Linked DNA regions of Homo sapiens: all the other regions are linked to region 1. Evidence: promoter capture Hi-C in 16 types of primary human blood cells and fetal thymus (Javierre and others, 2016). All regions are on one chromosome and are shown on one strand. The core of a region is centred on a gene start or on the middle of the fragment in contact, and the rest is flanking DNA. Distances in the headings are between cores, read along the strand shown. Region 1 holds the start of MDN1 (midasin AAA ATPase 1). Region 2 has its middle 86 kb from the start of MIR4464. Region 3 has its middle 120 kb from the start of MIR4464. Region 4 has its middle 140 kb from the start of MAP3K7.

The links. The method cuts DNA at HindIII sites, captures the fragments that hold promoters and counts their contacts. A CHiCAGO score of 5 or more calls a contact.
Region 2: a fragment that was not itself captured here is called in contact with the fragment with the promoter of MDN1 in region 1 in 2 of 17 cell types (naive CD8 T cells and total CD8 T cells); the score reaches 7.7 in naive CD8 T cells.
Region 3: a contact is called between a fragment that was not itself captured here and the fragment with the promoter of MDN1 in region 1, in 2 of 17 cell types (activated CD4 T cells and naive CD4 T cells). The highest score is 7.0, in activated CD4 T cells.
Region 4: a contact is called between a fragment that was not itself captured here and the fragment with the promoter of MDN1 in region 1, in 3 of 17 cell types (total CD8 T cells, naive CD8 T cells and activated CD4 T cells). The highest score is 6.4, in total CD8 T cells.

What each region holds. Positions count from the first base shown.
Region 1 is chr6:89,818,371-89,821,237 of GRCh38, forward strand. MDN1 (midasin AAA ATPase 1) reads right to left here and starts at 1,424. Exons shown (of 102, transcript NM_014611.3): 1 at 1,136-1,424. The coding sequence starts at 1,237. RefSeq lists enhancers at 1-501, 1,078-1,467, 1,122-1,741, 1,742-2,361. The HindIII fragment of the contact is 1,090 bases long and covers 1,077-2,166 here.
Region 2 is chr6:90,397,082-90,399,985 of GRCh38, forward strand. No RefSeq gene overlaps it. Among named protein-coding and RNA genes, the nearest start is that of MIR4464, 86 kb to the left of the region's middle. The HindIII fragment of the contact is 175 bases long and covers 1,335-1,509 here.
Region 3 is chr6:90,431,687-90,434,747 of GRCh38, forward strand. No RefSeq gene overlaps it. Among named protein-coding and RNA genes, the nearest start is that of MIR4464, 120 kb to the left of the region's middle. The HindIII fragment of the contact is 2,496 bases long and covers 434-2,929 here.
Region 4 is chr6:90,450,387-90,453,597 of GRCh38, forward strand. No RefSeq gene overlaps it. Among named protein-coding and RNA genes, the nearest start is that of MAP3K7, 140 kb to the right of the region's middle. The HindIII fragment of the contact is 8,218 bases long and covers 1-3,211 here.

The DNA of each region.
Region 1 (2,867 bases), core at 174-2,673:
CTCCTACAATCCCTGCACTTTGGGAGGCCAAGGCGGGATGATCACTTGAGCCCAGGGGTTCCAGACCAGTCGGGGCAACAAAGGGGGACCTTACAACTACAAAAAAAAAATTTTTTTTTTAATTAGCCACACCTGGGACCCAAGTACCTGGGACCACACTCACCTGTCCCGTGGCTCACGCCTGTAATCCCAGCACTTTGGGAGGCTGAGGCGGGTGGATCACGAGGTCAAGAGATCGAGACCATCCTGGCCAACATGGTGAAACCCCGTCTCTACTAAAAATACAAAAAGTAGCTAGGCATGGTGGCGCTCGCCTGTAATCCCAGCTACTGAGAGGGTGAGGCAGGAGAATCGCCTGAACCCGGGAGGCGGAGGGTGCAGTAAGCCGAGATCGCGCCACTGCACTCCAGCCTGGCGACACAGCGAGACTCCGTCTCAAAAAAAAAAAAAAAGTGTCTTCAACTCAGATAGAAGGAGTCAATGAGAAGGTTCTTAAAAGCCCGAAGACCTATTTCCCAGAAAACTCTAATTAACCTTATAATTTGTATAGTTAGTTACAGTGAGTATGAGCTGTCTTGCTCTGTACTTCAGCTGTTGTAAGTGTTTACGAACTGTCTCCAAAAACAGATGCAAATTTCCCTCATGGCAGAGATCGTAACGAATTTATCTATCCACTTTCTCACAGCGCCACACCGTTCCTTACGCACAGCAGGAATGCAATCAGTATTTGTCGATGGTTCCCCAAACTAACAGGAGTGGCTGCACTACGCACACTTAGGTGATACGTACACTTGTCAAAACGGCAGAAACGCAACCTCAATTTCAGAAAAACAAACCACATTCCTTTGGGAAGGCCACCTCTGCCACAAGCAGCCAAAGCGCTTGCATAGGGGTGAGAGGCGATGGGAAGGGTACTGGAAGGCTCCCCCAGATAAAAACAAAAGACTCCTTCCAATCGCCTCAAACACGCTCGGAAACCTCCACGACCTGCGCCAGCCCACAGGAGGGGGCCAGCTTGACCTGAGGCTGCACCACTCCCCACTTAAAGCGGCGAGTATCGGCGGGGGAGCGCAGGAAGCTTACTAGTGGGGCGACCCAGTCGTTCCGGCGCTTTCCCTCTCCCTTCACGTCTTACCTGCTTGGCCAAGAACCTGCCCAACTCACTGCGGCTCTTCTCGTTCTTGGCTGCGATTAACCGCAGCGGCGCGGCTGCCACCTCCAGCAAGAAGTGCTCCATGACCCAGGGCCCTCACCCCGAGCGGCCACCTGCGCTCCCTACTTCGCGGCCAGCGTCCCCAAGCCGCCGAGGTCCCAGTGCCCGAGCAGCCAGCAACTACGCCCGCAGGAAAGGCGTCCTCAGCTCCAGCGCCTACACCGGGAGAGGGGCACCACACGTGGGTGAGCACACGGCGTTTGACGTCATCAGCTCGGGACGGCTACGCTGCGCCCTCCCGGCCTCAGCCCCTCAGCGGCGGAAACGCCAGTCTTCGCTGTCCCGCCTTTTCCGGGAGGGAAATGGAAACAAAAATCTAGTCGGTTTGGATGCAGGAGTGATGGGGACTCGCGAACACAGCACGTGGTGGGACAGAAAGAAGAGTGCGTTAGGCCGGGGAGGAAAGAGGGGGCGTGTGAGTCTCAGCCCACCGTGCCTTGCTTCTGCCTTAACACACGGAAAGATCAGATGTGAGAGAAAAGCTGATTCTCGGCCGGGCGCGGTGGCGCATGTCTTTATCCCAGCATTTTGGGAGGCCGAGGAGGGCAGATCACTTGAGGTTAGCAGTTCGAGACCAGCCTGGGCAACATGGTGAAACCCCCTTCTCTACTAAAAATACAAAAATTAGCCGGGCGTGGTGGCGCGCGCCTGTAGTCCCAGCTACTCGGGAGGCTGAGGCAGGAGAATCGCTTGAACCCGGGAGACGGAGGTTACAGTAAGCCGAGATCGTGCAGCTGCACTCCAGCCGCGCGACACAGCAGACTTTTACTGTCTCAAAAAAAGAAAGAAAAGCTGATTCTCCCCTTCTTGTTAGCGGTGGCAGTTACCCCCTGTATAGGTAGGGGTCAGCAGTAACCTTAGTTCTTGCCTCCTCAGAAGAAATAATTCCACGAAGGGCATAAGGCAGGATAGACCTAGACAAGTTTCAGAATAGAAGTAAAAGTTTATCAAAAAGCTTTAGAACGGGACGGAAAGAAAAGGAGGAAAGTACAACTTGGAAGACTGCCAAGCAGGCGACTTGAGAAACCAAGTGCGCAGCTTGACCTGTTGACTTGAAGTTTTATATGTTGGCATACTTTGGGGAACTTGCATTGCTTCTCCCCACTCCTGAGATCTTACTGGGAAGCTACTGATCAGTTTCAGGTGTTTTCTATTAGGAGACTGCCTTTCGCTGGCCCCGGTGAACGTTAGAGAAACAGTTAAGAACCGCCTGACCATCGTTTGATTGTCACCCAATAGTCCTGGTATGTGTGGGGTGGGGAGCGCTCTCCTGTTCTGCTCATACCTAACTAGTTAACATTCTGCCCCAGCAATTCCCCTTGTAGGACTCTAGCCTGCGGAAATCCTCACTAAGTGTGACAAAGACACCCCTTGCAGTTTTCTTAATACAGATATTGGAAGAAAATGTTCAATTGGGAATATTAAACTATGGGGTGTAAGTTATAGCATATTCTGGAAGTCATAAAAAATAGTAGAGTCCATAACATTAAAAGTGCACTTGTGGGCTGGGCGCAGTGGCTCAAGGCAAGGCAGGCAGATCACGAGATAAGGAGTTGGAGACCAGTCTGGCCAACATGGTGAAACCCTGTCTCTACTAAAAATACAAAAATTAGGGCTGGGTGCCTTGGCTCACGCCTGTAATCCCAGCACTTTG
Region 2 (2,904 bases), core at 172-2,671, 580 kb after region 1:
AACGTATATCAATCTTAATAAGGACAAATTACTGCCCCAGCTCTTGTCCTAGGTGGACGGGATCTGATATAATCAACTTGCACCAAGTGTTTGTTTGGTCTCCTCCAGGCATGGTATCTTATCCAGCCCTGGGGTTTGTTTCTGCTGCTGAGAGATCAGACAGCAACAGCAGTAGCAGTTGGATCAACCTCAGTGTTTGATCTTTCCTCCTCCCTCCTGCTAATTGCTCTGTCTACCTGATTTTAGATACCTGACCCTAAACAGGCAGAGACATATTTGTTAATGAGACGTTGCTAATGATCTTTTCGCTCAAACTAGGTGCTCTTATCTCCTGCTGTTTCTTCAAAGAGTAATTTTCCCAGATGTGTTTGTGATCCAAGCTCAACAGATCACATTGTACTTCAAATAGGCAGCAACAGAAAACTTGGATCAAAGTAAAACTAAAACTACAACTTTGGAAGGAAGAGGTGGGAGATTCTGCTCTGGAAGAATCAGCTGACAGGAGCCTAGGAAGGAGAGGAAGCTGACCCAGGGACCTAATTCTATTTAGTTACTAATCTGCTGTAAGCAATTACATTTGAAGATCCAATTTTGCAAAAGATCAATGAGAACCTCTGGATTTCTCTCTTGTAGTAGTTGTGTAATGATCTGAAGCTCATAAGCCCAGGGACATATCTTATTTTCCCCCATATTCCCAATGCCTGAGCCAGTGCCCTGCTCAAAGTCCCGAATAAATATGTATTTGTTGAGTGGACAAATAAACAAACAAATGGATGAAGTCTCGTAGATAGAGGGTGCTTTGTAGGAAATCATTTGAGTAGCAAGATTCTCCAACCCACGTAACACAGGACCTGATTTGCAGAACTTTGTTTAGACATAGCATTTCAAGAGCACGTTTTCTGAACCATAAAGGAAAGTAGGGTTCTAGATGAATAATGCCTTTTCACAGTGTCTGAGTCACCTCACACCCCTCACCCTCATCTGATAACGGCCCTTGGCAGATCTGCCCTTTTGCAGGGGATTCCCCAAGGCTCTCACCTCTTGCCTGCCCCTGTGTGTGTGACTGCAGCAGGCACAGGGTTGCCAGGCACCAGAATATAAGCACAGAGCTGGAGGAAATGGGAGGAATGATAGGGCAAGTTTATGGCAGTGAAACTTCCTGACAGTATGCATTTATGGGAATATCATACACATTTCACCTTATGATGGTATTTTTTATGCTGACAGGAAGATAAAGCTGGGCAACAACGGAAAAGTTGACTACCAAGGTAGTGTTGAAAAGGAAAGAGTTTGTTTCAATGAGACATTCTCATTATAGATGTTGGCTTAGTCCAAGCTTCTGCCTCCTCTCCCATCACAGAGGTTCTCTTCTTCTAATATATTGTGGAGGAGGGGGGTTTGTATCAGTGCAAACTGTACTGCCTCTCTCATGCTCTTGCTTCTACAAACACCCCTCTCCAAACAAGGACACCACAAGGGCGTGACAAGCGGTGCTCATCACAGCCTCTAAGCTTCAACATAACAGGATTGTCTTTCTCTTCAGTTAGATAGGGACATTTAGATAGAGCTTTGTCCCTCAACAATCTATTGAAGAGAGCAAAAGCAGTAGAGGCCCAACAGAAGTTCATTTTGGAACTTGCTAAATTAAAAGTAAATAACACTCAGCATATTAAATGCCCTCTAAAAATATGTGAAAGTACTCAAAGGCCTTGGCATCCAGGAAGTTCCCTGCAGGATGTCCACCTGCACTCCAGTGCTAGCTCTGGGAAGCTGTATGAGCCTGGTAAGTCTTGTGCCTTCCTGGGCCTTGGTCTCCTCCTCTGTTAAATATGTGATTTGGACCTTCCTTCTTTCCTTCCTGCCTTCCTGCCTTCCTACCTTCCTTCTTTCTCTCCTCTCTAGCTCTCAGTATAGAAACCCTTTCTTTAGATGCGATCTCTTAAGAAAGGAAAACTAATATATATAAGAATATTAAGCATGAACCTTCTCTGGTTAAGCGAAGCAGGAGAGAGGTCGGAAGTATATGTTTCCAGAAGCCCCTGAACCTCAGGAACCTCTAGGCTCCAGTTGGAAAAGCCCTGTAGCTGTGTTATTTCATGATCTGCAAACTCTCTACGAGAGCTGCTTTCCTAGTCTTACCAGCCAAAGAAGACGTAGACTTTTCTAGCAAGGAGGACAAAGAGTTCGGGAATATCCATTTCAGTCAGTTTTCAAAACAATCTTGTATCATTAGGAGAAACACAAACTTGGGTCTGAATCCCTATCCTTTAAAGGACTCCTACAGACTTGGCTTGGGGTTCCTAACTGCAGGGAAAATAAATCCTCAATCATTTACCTTCATGACATAGGAGACCCAATGATCAACAGTATTTCTCTGTATAATCTTCTTTCTGACAAGCTCTCCAAACAAAAGAAAAGAGAAAGAGAAATGGCCATAGGAGGGAAGACTTTCTTCTAGGGCATTTGAGAAGATTGTCAGACCCAGATGCGAGGCACCACCTTTCCACCTTATGCCTCATTAATGGAAATAACGCAAAAGCCCAGATCTAAGGCAGAGCTTCCCACCTATGAACCTGCATCTCAATCTTCACCTTCCAGGAACCAGACAGTGTCTTCTAGGCTGATTACTTCCAGTTTATCTCATTATGATGTCCACATATTATAGCTCCCCTCTCCCTTGTGATGAGCATGGAAAATATCAGTGACTCCAAATCCCAATTCTTTCACCTTAGAAAACAAATCTGAGAATCCCTCTACCACCAAGCACAGTACCTGGATACAACAGGCACTCATTAAATGTTTGCTTAGCCAATGCAAGGATAAATGAATGAAATTCCTCATCCCTGTATTCATTTCTGAAGACCTGCTGGTGAAAATTTAGCTCTAAACATCTTTCAGATTTAT
Region 3 (3,061 bases), core at 432-2,931, 610 kb after region 1:
ATTAGCTCAATAGAAGATATCTAGGCAAACAAGTCATAGATGAAGTAATCTCCTCCCTCCACCCCCTCCTTCAAGAATTCAGCATTTCTTGCCTGAATATTGCTATAGCCAAGTCTCCTTGCCCCCAGATTTGTCCTGTTTCCCACTGCACTGGAATGACATATCTAAAATGCAGAATTGATTACATCACTCCCCTGACTGAGACATTTCCATAGCTCTCCATTTCCTCCAAGACTCAATCTAATGATCTCAGCCTGGTGTATCAGAACCTCAAATATTCTAGCTCTTACCTGTCTCCCCATTCTTACCTCCTGCCATCTCCAGCCTTTCATTTCATATTTCAGCAGTACTGAGCTGCTTCTTATCATGTCCTCCTTCAAAATAAAGGAAAACAATAAATGATGTCTTTGTTCTTTGTTCTATCTGCCTGGAAAGCTTTTTCTCCCTTTTCTTTGCTGGAAGATTATCCTTCAAGATTAAACTTTGGTAGTAATGCTTCCAGGAAACCTGGTCCAGACAAGCCCCACCCCTTCTCCCCTCAGGTTGGGTGCCCCAGGGCATCCTGTATTTAGCCCTGTCCTAACATCAAATTGAAATGATCTGCATAACTTTTTCTTTTCAGATGACTTAACCCCCTCAAAGATAGGGGCCATGCTTTAGTAATCTTTTCACCCCTAGTGCCCAAAGAACGGAATGCCAGAAACCTAGTAGGTGTTTAATAAATGTTTTTGAAATCGAACAAAATTACGTTCTTACAAGGGAAGGCTCTTTGTGAGCTGTTCCAGTGCAACTAACCAGCTTCATTCATGCTATTCCAGTCTCTCCTCAGCCATGTGCTCCAGCCACATCTAATTCTAGTGCTTCTCTAAGTTAGCAAGGAACTTCCATGCCCCAGGGCCAATGCTCATTCCTGACTCTCTGAAATTCCTTACACTTCTCTTCCTAAGGTAGTCCTATTCATTCCTTAATACCAAGCCTCAATATCATTGACTTTGAGAAGTTTACTTTGACTCTGCCAGACAGAAGGAATCCTCTGCTCTTCTGTTCCTCACAGCCCTAAAGATAACATTACATTGTAAGTAATTTATACAGATGTCTTTCACATAGACTGTTTGTCGAGTTAAAGAACCTTGTTTTACTCATCTTTGTGTTTCCAAAGCCTAGCACAGTGCCTGGCACATGGTCAGATGGTAGGTGTTCAATAGGTGCTAGATAAATAAATGAATAAGTGAATTGTAATAGACACTTGATAACCATTGTCTGAATGGGCACAAGAAGAATCTGATACAATTTGTTTTCATAACAGAATAATATGGCCTAATTCAGGGTCTGGGGCTCAGATGCCAAAAAAGTCTCTCTCCTCCAACCTAGCCATGTGTTTTTGTGGCTTTATGTAACCTTGTCCCTCCACAAATGTACATGGGAATGGAGGGGTACAACCCTGGTCCCAAAAAGGAGAAGTGAAAACATAAAATCATGACTGATGGCCTTCAGTGTCCCAGATCAAAGTTTGAGGGAGAGGGTAATAGGGCTTTGGGTAAGAACTTCACCATAGAGAGGATGAGCTTGAAGAGGTAAGCTGAACTCAATACCAGGGTTTGCATCTTTGCTGTGAGGTGCTGATCTTCAGAAAGATACTAGCAACACTGCTGCAGCAGCCACCTGTTGCCATGAGAGAGCTTTGGGGTAAATGGTTGCAAACATGACAATTGAAAGAGCTGTGCTATTCAACTGAAACACTGTAATGCCTGGGCTCAGGCAGTGTTGCTGTAGGTCATACCTGAAGACAATCACAAGAAGGAACACCTACACTCCTACCACAAGAAGCCACACCAGCCTGGGCAAATTGTCAGAGATCTCTCCTGGTCATAGTGGCAGGAGGCAGACAAATCCTAGGCAGACAGGGGTGGGTCCCTGGTGAAACCCCATCTCCAAACCAAAGACACTTTAAAGCCTAAAAGCCTAGCTACAAGCTAAATCCATGGACCAGATTGAGAACCTGTCTTCTGGTTTTGCATGTTTTCCTCTGATTGATCCCCATCCTTCACCTATTTTACATATGCCTACCCTTCCCTAATTGGTTTTTTCCGCTGTTGTGCCCACCTTTGAGTGGTGCCTTTGTTTTAACCATTTTTGCATATTCACAAACCAATCAGCACTCACTCCCCTATTCTGAGCCCATAAAAGCCCTGGACTCAGCCACACTAACAGAGAAAAACCACCCGTGGTTGACCACCCTAGTGTCCCCTCTCCTCTGAGGGCTGTTTCATTGCTCAATAAAATTATTGTCTGCCTTCCTCACCCTTCAGTTGTCAGCCTATTTTCATTCTTCTTGGATGAGGGACAAGAGCTTAGAAACCACCCAGTGTGGGTATGAGTTACAACAAAGTGGGCTGAGGTATGCAGGCTGAGCTGGTGTGTAAGCCCAGCATGGCCTGGTGGGCTGAATGGGTAGGGTGTCTCCTGCATCACTGGGGTATATGAGGGGGATGGCTCTGTGTTGGTGGAGGTGGTGACAGTGCTGACAGCAAGGCAGAGGGTCAGCAGATGGATGGCTTGGTCATAGCCACATGGCTGGAGTGTGGGAATTTTCAGCCTGGCACTCAGCAATAGTGGGCTTCTAGCTCCACCTGCCATAGAATGTTGGCAGAGCAGGCTGATGATTGGGGTATCAGGTAGACAGGGCCTTGTCTGGATTTCTGCAGCCACTGCAAGGGACTGCAGTAAAGATTAGTTCACTGATACACGCAAGACACTCTGAGGAAGTTCTTAAATATTTGGAGTGAATTATTCTGGAAAAGACTGAAATTCTTACCAGAAGTAGTGGAGGCTTGAGGCCCTTATAAGTTAGGCCTAATTGTAAACATGGCTTATTTTGCATTCACAGGTTGGTGAAACCAGGGACAAAGTGATGACATAGATGAAAGCAAGCTTTTGACTATTTAAGTGAAAAGATGTAATGATGGGAGGCATTATAGCCCATAATGGACAGGGCCAGAATTTTACTCATCAGCCTGGACCTCTTCACACAGGGCACTATACTCAACTCAGTTTTCTTGCA
Region 4 (3,211 bases), core at 144-2,643, 630 kb after region 1:
AGGTAAGGGTTGGGGGGTGGTGGTTGTGGAAGCCAAGGTTTTTATCATGTAGACAAGCCTCCAGGCTTCAGAGAGAATAGATGTGAATGTCTCTTACCAAAGGTATCAGACTGTTTGGAGAGACCTGGTAAAGGAAGCAGATTCTCTACAGAATGCTAACTTCCCCCCACAAGAAACAGCTTTGCAGGGCCATTTCAAAACGTGTCAAGTAAGCATATTTTAGGGTCAAAAAACTTCAGTTTCTTTCAGGGCCCTGCTATCTGTCATGTGATGGTATAATAGTGAGGTTGAAATTTGGTGTCTTATGGCTACAGAGAGTCTGTTCAGTCAGACAGACTCCAGCCCCATCTCTGCCCCCCACCTTTCCATCATGACCTGAACTAGATTCTCAGGTTTCATTGTGTCCCCTTGGCTGAGAGGAAGACCCATTCAATCAGTGGGAGGGGCTTAGAATTTTATTGTCATTTATTAGCATTACCAAAATGCATAGAAAACACGAGCTGCATTCAGCACTTATTTATTGAGCATGTAGTAGGGACTAGCACTATTCTAGGCACGAAAGGTGCAGCCATGAATATGACAAAATGCTTGTTATCGTGGTTTTATGGTCCACGGTGGGGAAGATAATAAGCGAATCAGTAAATAAAGAAAACATAGAGTGATAAGTGCTCTACATGGAAGCCACTTTAAGGTAGGATGAGAGAGAGTGAGGGGGTGTGGCTAAGGAAGGCCTCTTTAAGGAGGTGACCTTGAAGCTGATGTCTGAATGTCAAGGAAGAACCAAATCTACAAAGTTGAGGGGAAGAGCATTCCAGGCAGAGAAACAGCTCTCAGGCACTAAGGTGAGAGAGGTTGGTATATTTCAGGGACAGAAAGACACTGGCTTGTGTAAACCAAAAATAAAATTCTAAGGTCCCCCAGCCATCTGAATGGACCCCTCCTCTTGGCCAGGACACTACAAAATTAACCTGAAAAACTGGTTCAGGCCACGACAAGAAGAGGGGGTGGGACATGCCTCATTATACCCTCCCCACTTTTGAAATTTAGAAAAAGCTGACCAGCATTCAACATCAACACAGACCTTAAGTCTAATTAGAAACATTTACAACCTGTGCTCTCTGAGGCCTGCTACTTGGAGTCTTCATCTGCATGATAAAACTTTGATCTCCACAACCCCTTATCATAACACAGACATTACTTTCTATTGATAGTAACGCTTTTGACCAATTGCCAATCAGAAAATTTTCAGATCTTCCTATAATCTGGAAGCCCTCCTTCTCCTTACAGGCCTTTCCAGACCAAACCAATGTATATCTTACATGTATTTGATTGATGTCTCATGTCTCCCTGTAGTGTATAAAACTAGGCTGTGCCCTGACCACCTTGGGTACATGTTCTCAGGATCTCTTGAGGGCTGTGCCATGGGCCATGGTCTCTCATATTTGACTCAAAATAAATCTCTTCAAATATTTTACAGAGTTTGACTCTTTTTGTCGACACCTGGTTTAGGAGGCTGAGAAAGAATGATACAGCATGACATGAGCAGCGGGCAGGGGCCAGATCACAGAGGGCTATGTAAGCCATGGCAAGGCATTGAGTTTTACTATAAAGAAGTTAGGAAGCTACTGAGGGGCAGAAAGCAGAAAAATCACATGGCCAGATGAGTATAGTGTTTTGGAAACTTTTCATTTTGATATGATTTCAAACTTACAAGAAATTTGCAAGAACAGTGAAATGGTTTGGCTCTGTGTCCCTACCCAAATCTCACCCTGAATTGTAATAATTCCCACATGTGAAGGGTGGGACCAGGTGGAGGTAATTGAATCATGGGGGTTATTTCCCCCATGCCGTTCTCGTGATAGTGAGTGAGTTCTCACGAGATCGATGGTTTTATAAGCATCTTGCATTTCCCCTGCTGGCTCTCATTCTCTCCCCTGCCACCCTGTGAAGAGGTGCCTTCTGCCATGATTGTAAGTTTCTGAGGCCTCCCCAGCCATGTGGACCTGTGAGTATTGTTTGTCCCAATACTGGTGATGTTAGCTTTGATCACTTGCTTAAGGCCATGTTCCCCAAGTCTGTCCTCTTTAAAGTGACTAATTTTCCCTTTGTAATTAATAAGTCATTCCTGAGGAGTTTCTTTGAGACTATGTAAATATCCTATTGCTCATCAAACTTTTACTAGTTTTAGCACCCATTGATGAATTTCTAAATACATCACTTCTATGTTTATTATTTGGAATTCAACTATAAGGAAGAGCTTTCCTTTCTTCCATTTATTATGTTAAAAAGAGATCATAGGAAAGTAAAAATGAAGCAAGGAAATCAGTTAGTAGGTTGTTGAAGTATGCCACAGGAGAGGTAATAATGGCTTCTACCAATGTGTGTTGGCAGAGGATGGAGATAAATGGATAGATTCAGCCTATGTTTTAAGGTGAACTTGAGAGTTTTGTCAATGGTTTGGATGTGAGGGTGATGCAAAGAAAGTTATCAAGGATAATTTCTAGATTTTTTGTCATAAGCAAATGGTACCATTTAATGGCTCCAGTTGGTGGTACCATGATGGTGCCATATATCGAGATAGAGAAGACTGGTGGAGGAACTTTGGGAGGGAAAATCAAAAATTTTGATTGGGCACAAGTTTCAGATACTTGCTTAACATCCATGTGGCAGTGCCAAGGAGTTCAAATAGCTGGTGCGAGGGAGAGGGAGTGATGGGTATATACATAATATTTAAAGCCACGACACTGAGTGAGACTAATGAGTGCAGACGAAGAAGAGGTCAGAGCACAAATCCTGAGCTACTTGAAGAATCAGAAGTCAGGAAAATGAAGCAAATTTGGCAAAAGTGCTGGACAAGAGGCAATTAGCAAGGGGGAAGCAGAACCAGGAGAGTGTGTTGCTGGGTAGGAGAAAAAAGGATTTTAAAAGGAGGGAGTGGCAAAGGCTGCCGACTTCTGCTGAGAGCTCAAGTGTGATGAGGACAGGGCTTGCAGGTTGGACTCTGCAGCATAAAGAGCGAAGGGGCTGGAACTCAGCAGAAGTGGGTTGAGGGGAGAATGCGAGGTGAGGAAGTGGAGGCAGTGATAATAATCAAGGACTTTAGGAAGGTTTGCTGTGAAGGAGAACAAAGTAAAATGGTGGGAGCTGGGCAGGAATACATGGTCAAGAGAGTTAATCTTTTTTCTTTCTATTATTTAATATGAGAGGTAAA